Linked DNA regions of Homo sapiens: region 1 is linked to region 2. The links are contacts of gene promoters, found by promoter capture Hi-C in blood cells and fetal thymus (Javierre and others, 2016). All regions are on one chromosome and are shown on one strand. Each heading gives the region's core, a stretch centred on a gene start or on the middle of the fragment in contact. The rest is flanking DNA. Distances are from core to core; before and after follow the strand shown.

The links. The method cuts DNA at HindIII sites, captures the fragments that hold promoters and counts their contacts. A CHiCAGO score of 5 or more calls a contact.
Region 1: a fragment that was not itself captured here is called in contact with the fragment with the promoter of SUPT7L in region 2 in 1 of 17 cell types (monocytes); the score reaches 7.8 in monocytes.

What each region holds. Positions count from the first base shown.
Region 1 is chr2:28,866,743-28,869,675 of GRCh38, reverse strand. TRMT61B (tRNA methyltransferase 61B) reads left to right here. Exons shown (of 7, transcript NM_017910.4): 1 at 1-97. Among named protein-coding and RNA genes, the nearest start is that of TRMT61B, 2.1 kb to the left of the region's middle. RefSeq lists enhancers at 343-857, 858-1,373. The HindIII fragment of the contact is 657 bases long and covers 957-1,613 here.
Region 2 is chr2:27,662,341-27,665,421 of GRCh38, reverse strand. SUPT7L (SPT7 like, STAGA complex subunit gamma) reads left to right here and starts at 1,808. Exons shown (of 6, transcript NM_014860.3): 1 at 1,808-2,093. It overlaps SLC4A1AP (solute carrier family 4 member 1 adaptor protein), which reads right to left and starts at 1,533. Exons shown (of 14, transcript NM_018158.3): 1 at 845-1,533; 2 at 127-322. The coding sequence starts at 1,507. The HindIII fragment of the contact is 6,150 bases long and covers 783-3,081 here.

The DNA of each region.
Region 1 (2,933 bases), core at 36-2,535, 1.2 Mb before region 2:
GAGGAGTTCCTTCGGTAAGCAGTACATGCTGAGGAGGCCAGCCTTGGAAGACTATGTAGTATTGATGAAAAGAGGGACTGCCATAACATTCCCAAAGGTAATGCGATGGAGATAAGGTGTGTATTGGTTTCAGGAGGGGCAAAGACAGATGCAGTACTCAGTCCTGATTAATGTATTCAAAGACATCTCAGAACGTTTGGATTTTTTATTGTACTCAGGCTTTTAAAATAAACCAATGGTTATAACTTTTACATATCATGATGAAAATTAGCATTAGGGAACGGCTAGATTTTAATTTTAACTTAGGAGTCTCGAGTCCCTTATTTGTAAAATGTGGATAATAGCTCAACTTTCTGTTAGGGTGATGTGAACTCACTACGTACATAATAAGTACTAATTTTGTTCCCCATTACTCTTAAGTTTATAACTTCAGGACTCAAGAGAATGTTGAACTCTTAGGGAACAATTTTTTAGTACTACTATGATGATATTTTAATATTCAATAATCATGTTACAAGAGTATATTAACAATAGGTACATTACGGTGCTTTTCCCCTTTTAGGGAAGAAATAGAGTTTTATATTACAATAGCTAACATTCAACACCAAACATAAAATGACTATTCTTTATTAAAAAGTTAACTGCCTAAAGCCTAGTTTCAGTCTTTTTTTTAAGACAAGTTCTCACTCTGTCATCCAGGCTGGAGTGCAGTGTTGCGATCTTGGCTCCCTGCAACCTCTGCCTCCCGGGTTCAAGCGATTCTCCCACCACAGCCTCCTGAGTACCTGGGACTACAGGCATGCACCACCACCCCGGGCTAATTTTTGTAGAGACGGGGTTTCGCCTTATTGCCCAGGCTGGTCTTCAACTCGTGGCCTCAAGTGATCCGCCCACCTCGGCCTCCCAGTGCTGGGATTACAGGCGGGAGCCACCGCGCCCAGCCCTAGTTTGAAGCTTATGCTAATCATCTATTGCTAGCAGATTATTTCAATCCTTAGTCACAGTCCTTGAGTAGAATGTTCCTGTGTAACACAACTCCTCCTCCTTTCTCCAGATCAGGATTCATTCGTTATTTATTCAGCAAATTGACTGCCTTCCATACTCAAGGCACTGTTTAGGGAAGTATAGTGTTGAACTGCAGTCCTCACCCTCAACATAGACCTTACATTCTAGAAGGGGTGACAAAGAACAAACAAGTAAATGAAAGAATAAGGTCATTTCCAGTAGTGTTAAGTGTCATGAAGACAAATATATTAACAATGACATTGTTTTGGGTGACCTGGGGTATGAGCATACTTTATGTCAGGTGAGGAGAGATGGTCTCCAAGGAGGTACACTTGATAGGAAACCTAAATAAGGAAGAGCTTGCCTTGTAAACAGATCTAGGAAGAGAATTGTTCTTGCAAAGGGAGGAATGCTGCAGAGTTTCTGTTGTGGCCTCAATGGGTCAGATGAGGGACCCCGTATGAGGTGTGGTTTGAGTATTTTATTCCATTTGTAGTGAAGGACCATTAGAAGGTTCTTAGTAGGAATCCAGTCTGTATTTTAAACGGTCTACCCAGGGACTAAAAAAACTTTCCTCAGAAACTTAGGCTACTGAGGTATAATAAGCTTTTTTTGTTTAAAGACAAGGTCTTGCTATGTCACCCAGGCTAGAGTGCAGTGGCTCAATCACCTCTTACTGTAGCCTGAACCTCCCAGGCTCCAACAATCCTCGCACCTCAACCTCCTGAGTAGCTGGGACCACAGGTGCATGCCACTATGCCTAGCTAATCAAAAATTTTTTTTGTAGAGTTGGGGTCGCCCTAACTTGCCCAGACTGGTCTCAAACTTCTCTAGGCTCAAGGGATCCTCCCTTGAGGGTGCTGGGATTACAGGTGAGAACGACCGCTCCTGGCCATGGTATCATAAGCTCTTGAAGAAAACTAAAAGACTTTCGTAATTTTATCTTGCTTCCCCGTGTCTCCTTTCTCCCCATTAGACAAAATCAGGAGAGATTAGTTACATTTCATGAAGTTATAAATATGCATATTTAGTATACTTTCTGCCTTTCCATTTGTTACAGATAAAAGTCACATTGTTCCACTCTAAGGAGGAATTTAAGTACTAAATTTGTTAGGTGTTGACTTCTCTTTATAGCTTCCAAGTAATGGCTGGAGATAGTTTTACTTCAACTTCTACAACTTTGAAATGCTTGAGGGAATACCTTCACTGATGTTTAAAAACTGATCTCCCTGTTAGAATTACATAATTCCATCTTAGTATTAAAAATATGACCAGAGGCAGAGTGCAGTGGCTCACACTTGTAATCTCAATATTTTGGGAGGCTGAGGCAGGAGGATCATTTGAGCCCAGAAGTTTGAGACCAGCCGGGGCAACATAGGGAGACCTTGTCTCTACAAAAAATAAAAAATTAGCCAGGTATGCTGGCACACACTTGTGGTCCCAGCTACGCAGGAGGCTGAGATGGGAGGATTGTTTGAGCCCAGGAGTTTGAGGCTGCAGCGAGCCATGATCTTGCCACTGCACTCCAGCCTGGGCAACAGTGTAAGATCCTATCTCAAAAAAAAAGTGAGGGGGCAGGTGCCGTCACTCACACCTGTAATCTCAGTGCTTTGTGAGGCCAAGGCAGGAGGATTGCTGGAGGCTAGGAGTTCAAGACTAACCTGGCCAACATAGCAGGACCCCATCTTTATAAAAAATAAAAAAAAAATTAGTTGGGCATGGTGGTACATGCCTGTGGTCCCAGCTACTTTGGAGGCTGAGGTAGGAGGATTGCTTGAGCCCAGAAGTTCGAGGCTGCCGTGAGCTACTATTGCACTACTACACTCCAGTCTGAGTGACAGAGACCCTGTCACCAAGAAAATTTGTTTACTAAATTTAAAAAAACAGTTTTTATTAATATCATCCGTAATATTTGTGTTAACAAAAAC
Region 2 (3,081 bases), core at 559-3,058:
CAAATTGTGTTTGCCCTATCTATCTCAAGGAGCCATGAAAAGCTGTATGATTTAAAAAAACATTTAAGGGTACCACTTGTAATGAACTTAAAATATTAACCTCCGGCAGCAATTTTAATTTCTTACCCATTCCCCAGGTGCAACCCATCTCATCATCTTGGCTACCAGCATTTATCTTCCTTTCAGAGGTATCCATTTCCTCTTCTTCATCTGAGTCTTCTCCTAGCATCTTCTTCTCCAACAATATTTGCTGCTGCTTGCGCAATTCCTTCAACTGTGTTACTGTTAACTCGGATTCTGCCTCTCGGTCTTCCTCTGGTCCCTGATGAACCAAGGAAAAAAAGGTTATTTATTTATTTAGAGACAGGGTCTTGCTCTGTCGCCTAGGCTGGACTGGAGTGCAGTGGCTGTAATACACCTCACTGCAGCCTTGACCTCCTGGGCTCAGGTGATCCTCCCACCTCAGCCTCCTGAGCAGCTGGGACCATGATGCCTGGCTAATTTTTTTTTTTTTTTTTAAGAGACAGGGTCTTGCCATGTTGCCCAGCCTCCTCTCAAACTCCTGGGCTAAAGCGATCCTCCCGCCTGGGCCTCCCAAAGTGTTGGGATTACAGGCGCGAGCCACCGCGCCTGGCCAAACAAGTTATTTTAGAGTTCGGGATTGTGAACATGACTTTCAGAAATATAGCAATGTGTACAGCCGTCTGAAGATGATAGGCCAGACTTGATTCCTTCACTTTCGTAATCGCTGAGTGGGAGATTCTTCTTCCTCATCCAAAGCTTAAGAAGCACAAGAACGCAGTCCAATGAACCCGAAATTTCAATTCTAGGTTTTTCTACCTACCTGCAGGATAAAGAGCCGGGTGCTGCCTCCAAAGCGAACAACATGCCCAACGTGGACTCGACAGTAGGTGCGAGGTGGGATGCGAGTTTTGTTGAGAAAAGTGCCATGGGTGCTTCCCAGATCGTAGAGGTAGAAGCCCGGCCCGTTGCTGTCGCATTCTCCGTCAGGGCCGGACGCCCTGTGCTGCAGCACTGCGTGGTACCGAGACACCGAAGGGTGCTCCAGGCACACGTCGCAGCCAGACAGCCTCCCGAAAAGGCAGTAACTCGTCCCTTTCAAGCTACGGGTGCCAAGGATAGTGCCGCCCTTCAGGGTCTCTAAGCTGTAGGGGGCTGTGGCAGGGCCACCCCATGGAGGCTCTTGGTAGGGGGGAGCCCGGGCTGGACCGCCAGGGGAAGAAACCGCTGTCGGGGGGCGCGACTGCTCCTCCTGTAGACTCCTAAAATCACCGCAGTCCGGCTGAGGAGGAGGGATGTCGGGCTCCCCAGAATTGGAGTCCTGCAACGCAGTGGGCCCTTCCTTCTGTACCTCCTCAGGGTTTGAAGAACTGCTGGCCGGGGCCTTACTCCGCGCCGCTGGGGACACCGGCAGAGCTGGCTTCTTGAAGTCCCCACTGAGGTCTTGCGACGCCAGGGTCTCTGACTGAGAGAGAATGTCAGCCATCCTCAACCGGTGCAACTTCGAAATCCGCTCCTTCGAAACCCACCCTTCGGTCTTTACGTTCCTGTCCACGTCCCACTCTCCCAAGCTCCCAGTGGCGTCTGTAGGCGGCGATGGTGAAGTTGCTCCTTCACGACCTGGAGCGTTGCGAAGTGGTGCTAACATGAGAAGGTCATAATATGAGAAAAACAAAACGGTTATCGGGATGCTGTGCAGAACGGGGACATATTTAGAGGTTACAACGGGATCGTAATGACTTCCTGTTGCATAGCTTGATTGAGAAGAAGCGCTTCCGGCGGTCTTAGATCACTAATCAACAAACCAGCTTTCGGGGTCTGACGCGATCCTTGCCTCAGGCCTCTCGAGGTCCAGACAGCCGCCCAGCCCGCTCTGCGACGCAGCAGTGAATAGTGTGGTACCTCCTTGTCTCGGTTCAGGTCCAGACCTCCCCGTCTTCCGGCTGCCCTGAACGTCAGGCGACCTCAGGACCCTGTGATTGGCGCCTGCGCCGGCGGACCGTGACCGAGGAAACCCCTGGAGGGACTTGGGCATTCCTTGGGCTCCGTGCCTGTTCTTCGTGCTCCTTTCGGTAAAGTAAGGGAAGAGGGCGACTTTTTTGTTATTTCGTTCATTCATTTATTTTTTTTCTGAAATTATTAAGGCAGAATAGTTAAGTGGTTAAGAGAGCAGACTCTGGAGACTGTCGATTTTTGACCTCGCCATTTGTGACATTGGGCAAGACACTAGGCCTCAGCCCTCACTCTGAAAAATGGGGATAAGATTATTAGCCTCATAGGGTTGTTGGAAGAATTGAATCAAACAATAAAGGCCAGCCAGACCGGTGGCTCATGCCTGTAATCCCAACATTTTGGGAGGCTGAGGCGGGAGGATTGCTTGAGCCCAGGAGTTCCAGAGGAGGCTGGGCAACATGGCGAGACCCTGTCTCGCCAAAAAAAAAAAAAAAAAAGAAAAAATCCAGGTTTGATGGTGCGCGCCTGTAGTCCCAGCTACTCCAGAGGCTGAGGTGGGAGGATTGCTTGGTCCCAGGAGGTTGAGGCTGCAGTGAACCATGACTGCACCACTGCACTCCAGCCTGGGCTACAGAGTGAAACCCTGTCTCAAAAAAGAAACAAACAAAAAAGGTGAAGTCTGGCATATAGTAAACATTCAACAAATGCCAGATATTTCTGTGTGCCTGGCCCTGTAACAAGACCACAGCCATAAGAAATAGACGGGCAGAAAAAATCTATTGCGATAAGTACTAATTAAAATCCAAGGATAACTGCTGTGACATAGACTTGCAAAGCACTGTGAGAATAGAGAAAGGGAGATGCACTGGTGAAGTGACGGACGGTGGGGACTTATGCTGTACTTAAAAATGAATATGAGTCTGCCAGGGATGTGCAAGGTTGGCAGAGCATTTCTGGCAGAGTTCACAGCTGAAAGTGTCAATTGTGGAAATGTACAGCATTCTCAAGAAACTGAGTAGTATAATGTTGTTAGAACAAAGGTAGTCATTTCACCCAGGAAGCTCCTCCTTTGTGCTTCCAGTACCCCAGGTCCATATACCTCTAGAA